Linked DNA regions of Homo sapiens: regions 2, 3 and 4 are each linked to region 1. Evidence: promoter capture Hi-C in 16 types of primary human blood cells and fetal thymus (Javierre and others, 2016). All regions are on one chromosome and are shown on one strand. The core of a region is centred on a gene start or on the middle of the fragment in contact, and the rest is flanking DNA. Distances in the headings are between cores, read along the strand shown.

Region 1 (3,261 bases), core at 228-2,727:
TCTAAAATATCCTTGCTGAAATAAATTTTAAAAGTTCTGCTTCAGGAAGAACATTGAACCCAGAAGGAAGAAGAAAGAGGCAAGAAAAAAGAGTGAACAAAGATAGTGGTAAGCACATTGGTAAATCTAAACAGCATAGATTGTATAAAACAAAAACAATGACTTCAAATATCAGGAGAGAGTCTTAAAAACAAGATGTAACTAAAAAGAACAATAATTACACACAAGACAGAAGGGGAAGAGTGTGATTAAACTCATATTCAAAAAGCTTTCTATCATTTGCGAGAAGATCAGAAGTAGTAATATTAGATTCTATTAAACCAAATATGTGTGTAAAATTACAGAGTAACCCCCAAATGAATAAAAAAGGAAAGCATAACTTTCAAATCAGTAGATTCATGATTATGATAGAGATTGTCAGACTGGATTCAGCAGCAACAACAAAATCTAGCTACATGCTCTTATATGACACACATCTGAAACATAAATATACACAAAGTTTGAAAGTAAAAGGACAGGAAAAGATATATCAAAGAAATACTTGCCAAAATAAAGTTAGTGTAGCTGCAGCAATATCAAACAAAATGGATTATAGACAAAGACTATTATTAGGGATAGTGTTACTTTCTAATAATAGAATGAACAATTCTCCAGGAAAATACTACAATTCTAAATTTGTAAGCACACAGCCTCCAAACACATGAAGCGAAAATTCTCACAAATTCAGGGAGAAATTGACAAATGCACAAACTTGATATGAGATTTTAACACCTCTTTAGTAACTGATAGTTCCAAATGCAAAAAGATGATAAACTATAGAAGGCATAAACCACATGATTGATAAGCTTGATTTTACAGCTCTAACTAGATCCTACACCAATATTAGAATATATGTACTCTTTTAGGCAAACATGGAACATTTTCAAACATCTATTGCACACTTGGCCACAAAGCAGTCTCAGAAAATTCTAAAAAATCAACATCACTTACTACATTCTCTGACTATAAGGCAAAACTCAAAAACAAAATAACTCATAAAAAGATTCGTATTTGGAAATTAAAAAGTACTTTTAAATAATCTCATGGATGGAAAAAGAAATAATAATGAAAATCAGAAAATATTTTAAAGTTGCAGCCATTTTCACATGGAGGACTGGCCAGCACAATTTGCCTTTAGATTCATTTGGGAAAAGTGCCGACTAGTTCACCAAAAGTCAATTCACAGAATGACCAGATAGCCAAAAGCCAAATATGGTAAAAGCTAAACCACTGAATATCAACTTGCTAAACAACCAATCTGAATTATTGAAATTTTTTTTTTTTTTTTTTGAGACAGGGTCTTGCTCTGTCACCCAGGCTGGAGTGCTGTGGTGTGATCTTGGCTCACTGCAACCCCCCTCTGCCTCCTGGGCTCAAGAGATTCTCCCACCTCAGCCTTCCAAGCAGCTGGGACTACAGGGGTACACCACTGCACCTGGCTAATTTTTGCATTTTTTGTAGAGATGGGGTTTCATCATGTTGCCTAGGCTGGTTTGGAACTCCCAGGCCCAAGCAATTCACCAGCCTTGGCCTCCCAAAGTGCTGGGATTACAGGTGTGAGCCACCGTGCCTGGCCCCAGCCAAGGAATTTTTAAAGATGTGTTTCAGCTCCACTCCTGCCTTTGTCTGTGTCCAGAGCCATCCAATAAACCTGGTTCAGGACAGGTCTTCACAACTATTTTTTAACGCACACACACGGGCTGAGGTAAATACAGGTCTACAGGGTCAAAGGCGCAACTAAAATTTGGGGGATAGGGGTGCCAGGAAGTGTCTCCATAATTTAAATAATTGGCCATGCAGCAAATTTCATGTTGGTGAACTGCTTTTAGCGACTGATGGTCCACAAATGGGGCAGGAAGCCTAGCCAGGAAGTGGACGTTTGAGTCAAAGAGGTGCCAAGAATCTGCACAGCTTAAAACAAAGGTGCATCTTACTTGGATAGAGATTTCTTTCTACAGGTGTTTAAGTTTAAGGCAGGGGTCCCCAGTCCCTGGGCTATGGACCAGTACCAGTCCTGGCCTGTTAGGAGCTGGGCAGTGCAGCAGGAGGTGAGCTGCGGGCAAGCCAGGGAAAGCTTTATCTGTAGTTACAGCCACTCCCCCTTGCTCGCATTACCCCTGAGCTCTGCCTCCTGTCAGATCTGCAGGTGCTGGATTCTCATAGGAGCCAGAACCCTGTTGTGAATGCGGGATCCAGGTTGCGGGCTCCTTAGGAGAATCTAATGCCTGGTGATCTGAGTTGGAACAGTTTCATCCCAAAACAACCCCCCTCCCAGTCCATGCAAAAATTCCCTTCCACAAAACCGGGCTCTGGCCCAAAAGGTTGGGGACCCCTGATTTAGGGGGTTTTAACGTTTAGGGATCCCGGGCCGGAGGGTGGGCGGTGGAGAGGAGCTGGGAGCAGGAACACATTACTGTAAGGAGCCCGCCTCACCTCGGCACGGAGGTGGGACCCGGCCTAAAGCCCAGGAGGCGACTTACCCTGAGGGCTGTGGCCTGTAGGGCTCTTGAAAAGTTGGACTTTTAAGTTTTCCCTTTCCGCGAGGTGGGGCCTTGTGATATCTTCAAATCCTTGTTCAGCAGGCTGCGCACACGCCGGTCCTGTGTCTAAGGTGTCTCGGGTATGACCGAGGGGGCTTTGCCCGAGTGGGCGTGCGCCTTTCCTCGGAGGCCGGGACGAGGGGTTGTCGGCATCGTACCCGAGTCCGTGATCATGGCCGGCGCGGCTGCAAGGGCCAGCCCCGGGCGACTGGGCGAGGAATTCCCTTTCCTTCCCTCCGATATTGCCCAGGCAGAGCGCTGTCTGGGCCGCAAGGTCTGGACGGGGCTTCCAAACTCAGAGCAGAGTCTCCTCTGCGTGGGACCACAGCCTCCCCTTCCCCTCCAAGCTTCTGTCTGGCACAGCAGGCTTAGCCCCGCAGGCCCCCTTCCAGCAGCCTTCTATAAAAATGACGGGGTCCTTCTCCAGACAGGAAAACCAGGCTCGCTGCGCCTCGCCCGCACCCCCGGAGCGCTCTCGCAGCGCCCGCCCAGACCAGGCCTTCGAACTCGTGAAGCGCAGGGGGAGGCAGAGGAGAGTGGGCCGCGCTTCCTTCCCGCATCACACGTTTATTTGAGGCCTACTATGTGCCAGGAACAACTGGGGTTACCACCCCAGCAAACAGGCACGCAAAATGTGACACGAAGGTAGGTCATGGCTGCGGCGAGCGGGGGCGCGGGCGAA
Region 2 (3,261 bases), core at 568-3,067, 1.5 Mb after region 1:
AAGACAGGGTCCTTGCACTCAAAGATGAAACAATTTAGACAAAGAAACAGGAGATACAACATAAAAAGGTAAGTAACACTAAAAGACAGCAAAAGGGTATAGAGAATGGAAATACTGTGGTCAGGTTTGACTGAGAGACGCTTCATTATCTTGAGCTGGGCCTTGACAGAAATGTCAAATGTAGCTAGCAAAAACATGATGGTATTATAATTCAGTGTGTGAAAGGACAGAGATGTGGTGACTATCCAAGAGATAATAAATAGTCTGGATGGAGCAGAAGGCTGTTTAGGGAGTTTTCAGGGGGCAGGGAAGAGGGCTGGGATTGGACTGCCAAGGGCCTGGAATAGTCTTTACCGCATATGGCCATGTTTCCCAGTCTAGACGGTAAGTTTTTGGAGGGAAGACGGTAGTGCCTCAGTGTATAGCACCATGTCTAGCACTTGAGAAATAATAAATATTTCCCAAAATATAAATAACAGAAAGGGAGCTCTCTCCCAGGAAAAACCCCATAAATCAACTCATAAGTTACTCTCTTGTAGGTAGAGCCACTACACCAGTGAGAGGACAAGCTTATTGTATAATGTAGCAAAGAACCTGGCACATTGGTCACCATGCATAGAAATGGAAACTGAGAAAGGGGCAGGGAACTGATCCCCTCCTCACAATCTAATAGAGCAGCAAGGCAGCTCAGCAACTCTCACATCCGCTTGCCACTGAGTATGTGAGAACCTCGTCTTCGGCTTCCTTGCGCAATGACAGGGTGGCACGAATTCCAACTCTACTGATTTGATTCATCATGAAAAGTTGCATGACACCAGATACATTCTCCACTACCCCCAGCATCAAGATTCCAACTCTGGCTGGGGCATGCATTAAGTCTTAGCAACCATCCCCAACTCACCCCTCCCTCAATTCACCTGTGGTCTCTCTGCCATTGGCCTCATTCTTCTCTGCCACCTGTGGTTCTGTGACAACATCTCCATTTTCTTCATGTCCTTTTCTGGGCCGCTGTCGAGCTTTGGCAGCCTCCTTCTTTTTGGCTGCCTTCTTCTTGGCCAGGTCGGAGGGCATGATGATGACCCACAGGGGTAGGTTACTGTTGTTTCAGGGAGCCTGAAGGAAGGCAAACAGATACCCCCAAACCCTAAACTTACTAGTAAGAATGCCTGGGCCCTGCTCCATCCCTCTCAGGAATCTTCGTATCAACATCAAGCCTCTGATGCCCTGGCCTGCCCCCGCCTCGTCTGTTCCAACTTGGTCAGGGTATCCCAAACCAATGCCGATTCTCAGCGGCTCTTCTAATCTTAACATCTCTTCCCACAGGCACCAGTCCCCCACGGACTGCCTCACTTTGGAAACGCTCCTTCTTTCAGGGCCTCCGGCTGGGGACCAGGTTCTGCCCCTCAGCGGAGGTCTCCGTCTCCGGTTTCCCTACAACTTGGCGCTCCGCACTCAGCTAGCCGCCTCACTTTCCGGGCTTCCTCCTCCCGTCCGTCTCGGGCCTCTTCTCGATCGTCCCTCTCCACATCACCCGGCCGTCGAGCCCAGCCTCTTGCCGGGACGCACTCGTCCTCGCCCGCGTGAGTCCCCTCCGAGTCTCCACGCTCGTCACCCCCGGGTCCTCCCCCACCCCGCCCGTCAGCTTCTCTCCCTTAGCCCTATCTTCCCCCTCGCAGAGCCCTCCATCCAAACCCCGTCCCTGCTTCCTCTTCTAATTCTCTTTCCCCCTCACCGGCGGGGACCCTCTCCCTACAGCTCCCCTTCCCCTAACTCACTGGGCCTCGCTGCTCGGCCTATGTCGCAACAGAGCTGCTCCTTAGGATCCTCCGCGTGCGGCCGGCTCACCAGCCAATCACGGCCTCGGGTGGTTCTCGGCGCGCCGCGCTGCCTCCTTGGAAGTGTAGTCCTCAAGTTGCAGCGGCCAAGAGTGAGACCCGCCTTGAGGACTACTATGTATCCCACAGACCTCGCGGGGCCGCGTGACGCCATCAGGATGCGCGAGGCTCGGGGAGGGGGCGGGATTAGAGTCCAAGAGCTCTCTGCTAGCGGGCGCACTTCGGGCGCTGGAAACTGCAAATCCCAGATTGCTCGTTGGATAAACCGGCTGAGCCTTCAGGCTTTACCCCACCTCTCGAAAATCCATTGAGCTGTTGTGGAGTTACGAGTTTTTAGAGCTACCTAACCGACTCAGGCAGCAGGGCGTGCAACTACACTTCCCAGCTTGCCTCAGCGGGAGTAGATCGAAACAATGGGAGAGGAGAGGTGGGAGCGTGAGGGGAGGACTAAAATGAAGGGGGCGCTGGGCAGGGAGGGGTTCCAGAAAGCGGGGCATCGCTGCAAAGATGTTGCCAACGGAATTCCTTCACGAAAGAAAGCGCCTTGGTTTCATTAAACCTTAATTTTAGAGGCTGGTTCATTGTTAAACTTTTAGAAGGTGCCAGACGTTGTTTTGGAACCTCGGCCGCTTAGCCTCCCCGCTGCCGCATTGTTAGGTTTCCACTGAAGCCATGCAAGTTTGGTGGAAAGGGCCCCGAGATAAAAAGGCCCCTTGGCTGAGATTTGTTTTATTATTAGTTAGCCATGCTACCGGGCCCGTTACTTTCCCTTTGAGTCTCACTGTTTAAAATCTCTCACATGACATTTTGGGCTGGATGGTTTAAAAATAAATACAATCTCTCAAGGACTTCACATTACCTACATTGTAAACTCCAAATGTTTAGCCTCAAGTACAAGGCAGGCCCTTTGTGATCTTTGTTACTTCTCCAGGCTCCTGTGCAGCAGAAGCCTCACCATCAGTGACGTTTGGGGCAGCAAAGGAAGCTATTGCTCCCTTTGAGCATATTCTCCAAATGTGGCACCTTTTCGCCCACAGTCCGTGACTCAAACAATGAGAATTAGTTTTTCTTCTCAAACTCATACTTCAGTAGAACTTACCTACTTAAATAGTTCGGAGATTAAGCGTGCTATTTTACACCTGCATGCCTTTGAACATACATTTTCCTAGAATATCCTCCACCAACGAAGTGCCTACTATCTGTCAGGCTCAGATATATGTGCTGGAGTTGCAATGGTGCAAAGTCACTCCCTGACCTCAGGGAGCTCATAATAAAGAAGGAACATGTGAAAAGTAAACAAGCCGGGTGTGGTGGCTCACACCTGTAATCCAAGCACTTTGGAAGGCCGTAGTGGGAGGATCATTTCAGCCCAGGAGTTCAAGGCTGCAGTGAGCTATAATCAAACCACTGCACTCCAGACTGGGTG
Region 3 (3,261 bases), core at 220-2,719, 1.3 Mb after region 1:
CCCTGCTTGTTGGCCTGACCCCTCCCTCACCAGGCAGCCAGCCAAGGTGGTTCCTGCTTCACCCACTCAGTCATCAGCCTCAGGCTGCCCAAAATGCCTCTGACACCAGATTTATATCTTCTGGGCGGCTTCTTTAAATCCAGCCCTTCACCCGCCCCCTAGAGAAGCAGTGAAACCCCTTGGCTAGTCCAGCTGGAAGAGCTAGACCGCAGGAGCCGCGCCGTCTTCCTAACCTCGCCTCGGCCTTCGCTCCACAGTGGAGAGTGGGAGCCTAGCTGTGCTTGATGCTGAATGCCTGTTTTGAGAGTGTGAGTGGGATCATCTACAGTAAATACTTGCAAAGCATGGCACTGTGGCTCTGGGGAGCTGGTACGCCTGTGCTGTAACCATGGTACTCAGTCCTTCCAAAGTGTTTATTAATCAAGCACCTGTCATGTGCCATTGAGCCCACGATGGGGAATGAGGACAGTCCCTGCCCCCATGAAGCTTGTGTCCTGTTGGGAGGACAGACAGGTGGCCCAGCAGTTGCAGCATGGTGTGTGCACACGTTTGGCTGGTGGAACCATGTTTCTACCACTCATGGTCAAAAAAAGCCCACCAAAGTCCTGGGAGTTCACATCTGTGTGATGATACGGCAACATTGTTTGTAATGGAAAGACTGGACACCCCCAGTGCCCATCAGTGGGGGAGTCATTAAATAAACTATGGTATGTGCACATAATGGGTGGTATGCAGCCCTTTGGAAAAATGTAGGTTTTCCAGGTCCTGGATATAGCAGCGTAAGATGGGAAATCACAGAATACCCATGTTGTGCCTGAGATGGCAGGTGGGGTACCCGTGGTACCCGGGAGGGTGGCAGGTGGGGCACCCATGTTCTACCTGGGGTGGCAGGTGAGCCCATAACCATTGTAGAGGCCAACATCCTCAGAGGCCTGAGTGTGGGGAGGTAGGCTTTGACTCCCTAGGGAGAGAGGGACACTTAGGAAACAGACGGGCCCTGGAAGTGGGACATGAAGAGTGCCCTGGCCATCCAGTGTAGGCTGAGATGCTAGGGGCACAGAAAGAAGAGATCTGCTGATGCCAGCCTTCCAACCATTTCCCAGCTTGGCCAAGAGCCAGCTCTGGTATTCGTGAAGGAACAGATCCTGGGTGAAGCTAGAGGGAAGGCCGCAGAGGCAAAAGGAGAGAGGAGCTAGGCCAGGGGTCAGCGACTGACCCTCGCGGCCAGTGTACAGGGGTTGCAACTGGGAGCCTAGGGGGCCCCAAGGCATCTCCAGGCCCAATCTACCTCTGGGCTTTTCTCAAGCTCTCCCTAGGATTACTGCGGTTTCCTCCTGGCGCCTCTCGTCTTGGACAGCCATGCCCCCCTCCATGCTGCACTAATGGCTCAGCCTGGGGCCCTAGGGACCTCTCCTACCCCCCAGACTGCTCTGTCGGCCCCCTTTCCCCCCTACTGCTGAAACCCAATCCTCTGCAGCAGCGCCGGCTCAGCACCGCCGGCTCAGCACCGCTCCGCAGCCCCTGCCTGCCACGGTCAGCTACGTCCCACCTGGTCTGCTGCGGAGTCCCCAGCCCAGTGCCTAGCCCAGTGGAGCCACCGCCTGTTCCTCGGGAAGGAACAGTGGGACCTGACCGGCCAGATCACCTCCTCCAATCCTGCCAGGCTAGTGCCTCCCTGCCTTCCAACCTTGGCTGTCTCCCACCCTCTCTTCTCCTCTCCTTGCCTGGCCTCCTGAATCCTATCTTAGCCTCCTTAGCCCCCTGACTGACTCTCTCTCGCTTCTTCCAAGCCTCTGTAGCTGGTTCCGCTCCTGGGTTCTGGCCATGAAGCCCACCTCAGGCCCAGAGGAGGCCCGGCGGCCAGCCTCGGACATCCGCGTGTTCGCCAGCAACTGCTCGATGCACGGGCTGGGCCACGTCTTCGGGCCAGGCAGCCTGAGCCTGCGCCGGGGGATGTGGGCAGCGGCCGTGGTCCTGTCAGTGGCCACCTTCCTCTACCAGGTGGCTGAGAGGGTGCGCTACTACAGGGAGTTCCACCACCAGACTGCCCTGGATGAGCGAGAAAGCCACCGGCTCATCTTCCCGGCTGTCACCCTGTGCAACATCAACCCACTGCGCCGCTCGCGCCTAACGCCCAACGACCTGCACTGGGCTGGGTCTGCGCTGCTGGGCCTGGATCCCGCAGAGCACGCCGCCTTCCTGCGCGCCCTGGGCCGGCCCCCTGCACCGCCCGGCTTCATGCCCAGTCCCACCTTTGACATGGCGCAACTCTATGCCCGTGCTGGGCACTCCCTGGATGACATGCTGCTGGACTGTCGCTTCCGTGGCCAACCTTGTGGGCCTGAGAACTTCACCACGGTGAGCTGACCTCCCTACCTATCCTGCCAGGGACCCAGAGAGCCGACCAGTCCCTGCCCAGCACCCACAATTCCCTAGCCAGCACAGGCTCCCCCAAAGCCAGGGGACCTCTTCCTTCCTACCAGCCATGGACTCCCCACCCCCCAGTGCCACTCCGTGCAGCCCAGGAAGCTGTCCTCCTTGGGGCTTTCTCTGTCTCCCAGCCCGAGGGGAGCATGTGAGGCCACACTGACCCCGGCTGGCCCTAGGCCTGAGGTCTGGCCCAGGGAGGCCCTGCTCCTGGGGCTGGGGGTCCTCCATGGTGGGACCATTCTGGGGCAGAAGACCCCTATCTCTGCCAGGAGGTGGGGGGGGCTTGCTTTCCCTCTGCCTTTTCAACATACTGCCAGCCCCGGAGGACAGCCACAGGGGCCCATTTCCTTTTCCTGCAGTTCCCAGAGAAACACAGAAAAACCTGTAGGCTGTGCCCTGGGCTTTGGTGGGGATTGGCGGGGTGGAGGAGCTGAGTTGATGGGCTCCCAAGAGCGTCCTGCAACATGTGCCCACTGGAGCGTGGGGCTGGGGGCATTGAGATGCGGGCTTCAGTATTCAAAGAAGAGACGCAAACATACCATGAGGTGGGGAGAGGTCCCATGACCATGTGCCTGCCTGGGGGAGATGGCCATCACCCTGTCTGCCCGCCCCAGATCTTCACCCGGATGGGAAAGTGCTACACATTTAACTCTGGCGCTGATGGGGCAGAGCTGCTCACCACTACTAGGGGTGGCATGGGCAATGGGCTGGACATCATGCTGGACGTGCAGCAGGAGGAATATCTACCTGTGTGGAGGGACAATGGTAGGGAGCACACAAATGAGGCTGGGGGAGGGCACGGATGGAGTGCAAAAGGCTAGGGGAAGGAGA
Region 4 (3,261 bases), core at 365-2,864, 1.3 Mb after region 1:
AATACACTTAAGTACAACTTAAAGTATATTAAGTGTATTTTTGGTCCTAAGACCAAAAGCTTTGAGAACTGCTGATCTAGATGACGGGACAAAGTGGGGCTCCCGTCTACTCCTCTACCCACTGCCCATGCTTCACCCCCAGGGCCCCACCAGGTTGTCACTAACCTCTCAGCACACTGGGCTGAGGGTAGGATGGCATCTGACAGGGTCACTTTGCTGTGGAACGGCCCAGGTCTGGTATGGTTACTTGGTTGGTTGGCAAAGAGAACATTGTAATCCACGCATCGAAGGAGGAAGGTTGTGAAGGTGACAATGAAAATAAATTGTCTGCCGGGAGGAAGGGGGGGTGCCGGGATGCTGCAGTGATCAGGGACAGCCAGGTGGGCTCCTGCCCCAGCCCCCAGAGCAGCCCATGGTTATCCTCCCTGACCCTGCCCCTGCTGAGCCCTTGGGCTGCTCGGGAAAGCATGGGATGGAAGCAGCTGGCACAATTAAGGAAGCAAAATGACAGAAGGAAGCCATGGGCCCAGGGGACCGAGTTCCGGGCCCGGGCTAAGCGTCTCACCCCAGCTGGAAGACATCCTCCAGCAAGATGCAGGCAAAGCCATTCCGCTGGTGGTAGCTGTAGATGTGGCTGCGTGTCAAGGAACAAGCCTGAGGCACGGGGGGCCTCTCCTGAGGACACCTCCCCTCAGCCCCAACAAGTCTCCCACCCATGACGCCCTCACGGAGTCTCCCTGCCAAGAACAGTGCCAGCTCCAAGAGGACCTTCCCATGCCACCTCTGCAGGCCTAGCGCAAAGGATATCTTGGTGAAGAAACTGTCCAGGTTCTGGATGTGATGCCAGGAGCCTGGGCACAGAGGGGAGAGTGTCAGCCCCTGGCATGTGATCAATTCTCCACGTTCTCAACCCGCTGCCAGAGGCCCAGCCTGGGATAAGTACTGGAGCTCCCAGGCACCACTAACCCTCTCCCACCCACACCCACACACATACCTCGGAGCCCTTCAGGGACATGAAGCAGGGGTTGCTGCTCCTCCCCGTGGATGGGTGAGTCTTGGGACCCCTCAGGGTCACAGTCCTCCAGCCGCTCATAATCCTGTTCAGGGATCAAAGGGCCTACCCGCAGCCCAGGAGAGTCCTGGGGGCACTGCTGTGAGGGAGTGGGGGTTGCCGGGGCCAGGGGTGGGGTGGAGTGGGATCCCCAGGAGGGAGATGCAGAGGCAGGTGTCATTGCAGGTTGAGCCTGTGTTGGGGGGGTGGCTGGGATAGGGAGAGCACTGTGGCAAGACTGAGAAGCCCCTGTCCCCTGTAGCACTGAGCAAGGGGGCCCTGCGGTGGGAGGGGAAAATGAGGAGGGGGAGCTTCTTGTATGAGGGGCAGGGGACAGAGAGAAGATGGAGATCCTCCCTCCCCCAGGTCCCCGGCATGAAGGAGGAGGAGGAGGTGGCAGTGGCATGGGGAGGAGGGGCACCGATCCGGGCCCCAGATCTCCCCACCGCCCCAGCCGCCTTCTTCTCCCCCCCCAGCCCATTCGGCTCACCATCAGGCCACGGCTTCTCCAGAAAGGTTGGAAGGATGGGAGCTGTTGTTGCTTCCACAAAGGTCTGTGACACTGAGCTGGGACTTCAACAGGAACAATGACAACAACATTACTAGGTGACTCAGCCTAGGCAGGCCTCAGGCGTCCCAGCTCTCAGTCACCTGTCTGATCACTCACACCCCTTCCAGGGCAACCTGAGGCCAAATCCCTCAGGGCCTGAGAGGGGCATCAGTTTAAGAGGAGGGGCCAAAGAGCACATTGAGATGAGAAGATTCCTATTATCTCCATCTTCAGACCTTGAATGAATGAAAGATAAAAAGAACAGCAGCCAAAATGACAAAAGCAAAAAGCAAAATCGTGTTAGAGCCAGGTGTGGTGATGTGTGCTTGTGTTCCTAGCTACTCAAGAGACTGAGGTGGGAGGATGGCTTGGTGCAGGTTACACTGGAACAGTATAGGTTACAGTGAGCTAGATCCTGCCCCCTGCCACCCCCCCCAAAAACATCCTATTAAAGGATTGTAGCAGGGCGCAGTACCTCACACTTGTAATCAATCTCAGCACTTTGGGAAGCCGAGGAAAGAGGATTGCTTGAGGCCAGGAGTTCAAGACCAGCCTGGGGAACAGAATGAGAAGACTCCATCTCTACAACAAATCTTAGGACCAAGATGTTAACTATTTCATTTCTTAAGAGTGTACCTCCCCCACTTCCCTCCACACACACACTACAGTGATCAACAGAGAAATGTTTTGTGACCAAAACAGAAAAGAAGAAGTAAAGGGGCCAGGCATGTTGGCTTACACCCGTAATCCCAGGACTTTGGGAGGCCCGGGCGAGAGGATCACTTGAGGCCAGGAGTTCGAGACCAGCCTGAGCAACTTAGGGAAACACCATCTCTACAAAATCTAAAAAACAAACAAAATAATTTTTTTTCTTTTTGAGGCAGTCTCACTCTGTCACCCAGACTGGAGTATAGTGGCACAATCTCGGCTCACTGCAACCTCCGCCTCCCAAGTTCAAGTGATTCTTCTGCTTCAGCCTCCTGAGTAGCTGAGACTACAGGTGTGTGCCACCACACCCAGCTAATTTTTTGTATTTTTAGTAGAGATGGGGTTTCACCATGTTGGCCAGGCTGGTCTTGAACTCCTGACCTCGTGATCCACCCGCCTTGGCCTCCCAAAGTGCTGGCATTACAGGCGTGAGCCACTGCGCCTGGTCAAAAATAAATTTTTTAAAAAGAATAAGAAAAGGTTGCATGTTTTATTGGTCTGAGGTGCTAAGGAAGAGAAGAGGGGAGGCTGACTTTGCAGCCAAGTTGGGGAAAACTAAGAAGAGGAGGTGAAGAAAGGAAAGGCAGCTATCTTGGATTTGAGAGTTGGTTTGGAGAACTTAGAGTAGAAAATTGGGGTTCTCTGAAAGTTCCATTCCGTTTGCATCCTTATCATTTTCAACTGTGACATTCTCTCAAGTCCGGATCCCACTTCTGGGACCCCCTGAAAAGCATCAGGGCTGAATCAGAAGGGAGGACAGCTGTGAGTCTGGGACTTGGAAGGATAATTTGGATACCCAGGGAGGAGCTGAACTGAGTTCCTTGTTGTCACCTCAACAAGGAGGAGGAGACCCAGGCAGCTGGTCTGGTGGCTTGCCCAACGCCATTCTTGAGGCCCTGAATCACCAGGTTTCCTTCTAAAGCCCATTACTGAGATACTGACTCAGCCACCA

What was found. The method cuts DNA at HindIII sites, captures the fragments that hold promoters and counts their contacts. A CHiCAGO score of 5 or more calls a contact.
Region 2: the fragment with the promoter of ABCF2 here is called in contact with a fragment that was not itself captured in region 1 in 1 of 17 cell types (non-activated CD4 T cells); the score reaches 6.6 in non-activated CD4 T cells.
Region 3: a contact is called between the fragment with the promoter of ASIC3 here and a fragment that was not itself captured in region 1, in 2 of 17 cell types (non-activated CD4 T cells and naive CD4 T cells). The highest score is 9.3, in non-activated CD4 T cells.
Region 4: the fragment with the promoter of ATG9B here is called in contact with a fragment that was not itself captured in region 1 in 5 of 17 cell types (non-activated CD4 T cells, total B cells, total CD4 T cells and 2 more); the score reaches 10.1 in non-activated CD4 T cells.

Annotation. Positions count from the first base shown.
Region 1 is chr7:149,711,143-149,714,403 of GRCh38, forward strand. No RefSeq gene overlaps it. Among named protein-coding and RNA genes, the nearest start is that of KRABD3, 2.2 kb to the right of the region's middle. RefSeq lists a silencer at 2,336-2,630 and an enhancer at 2,962-3,261. The HindIII fragment of the contact is 1,268 bases long and covers 844-2,111 here.
Region 2 is chr7:151,225,388-151,228,648 of GRCh38, forward strand. ABCF2 (ATP binding cassette subfamily F member 2) reads right to left here and starts at 1,818. Exons shown (of 15, transcript NM_007189.3): 1 at 1,776-1,818; 2 at 918-1,113. The coding sequence starts at 1,071. ABCF2-H2BK1 (ABCF2-H2BK1 readthrough) reads right to left here and starts at 1,818. Exons shown (of 17, transcript NR_160983.1): 1 at 1,776-1,818; 2 at 918-1,113. RefSeq lists a silencer at 1,595-1,654 and enhancers at 1,755-1,804, 1,915-1,994. The HindIII fragment of the contact is 13,339 bases long and covers 568-3,261 here.
Region 3 is chr7:151,047,062-151,050,322 of GRCh38, forward strand. ASIC3 (acid sensing ion channel subunit 3) reads left to right here and starts at 1,470. Exons shown (of 11, transcript NM_004769.4): 1 at 1,470-2,358; 2 at 3,045-3,195. The coding sequence starts at 1,825. ABCB8 (ATP binding cassette subfamily B member 8) reads left to right here. Exons shown (of 16, transcript NM_007188.5): 16 at 1-721. RefSeq lists an enhancer at 2,982-3,261. The HindIII fragment of the contact is 11,911 bases long and covers 485-3,261 here.
Region 4 is chr7:151,022,880-151,026,140 of GRCh38, forward strand. It overlaps ATG9B (autophagy related 9B), which reads right to left and starts at 1,615. Exons shown (of 14, transcript NM_001317056.2): 1 at 995-1,615; 2 at 808-851; 3 at 566-630; 4 at 166-327. The coding sequence starts at 1,544. LOC124901777 (a long non-coding RNA gene) reads right to left here. Exons shown (of 3, transcript XR_007060593.1): 3 at 2,116-2,154. RefSeq lists an enhancer at 2,526-3,130. The HindIII fragment of the contact is 8,592 bases long and covers 58-3,261 here.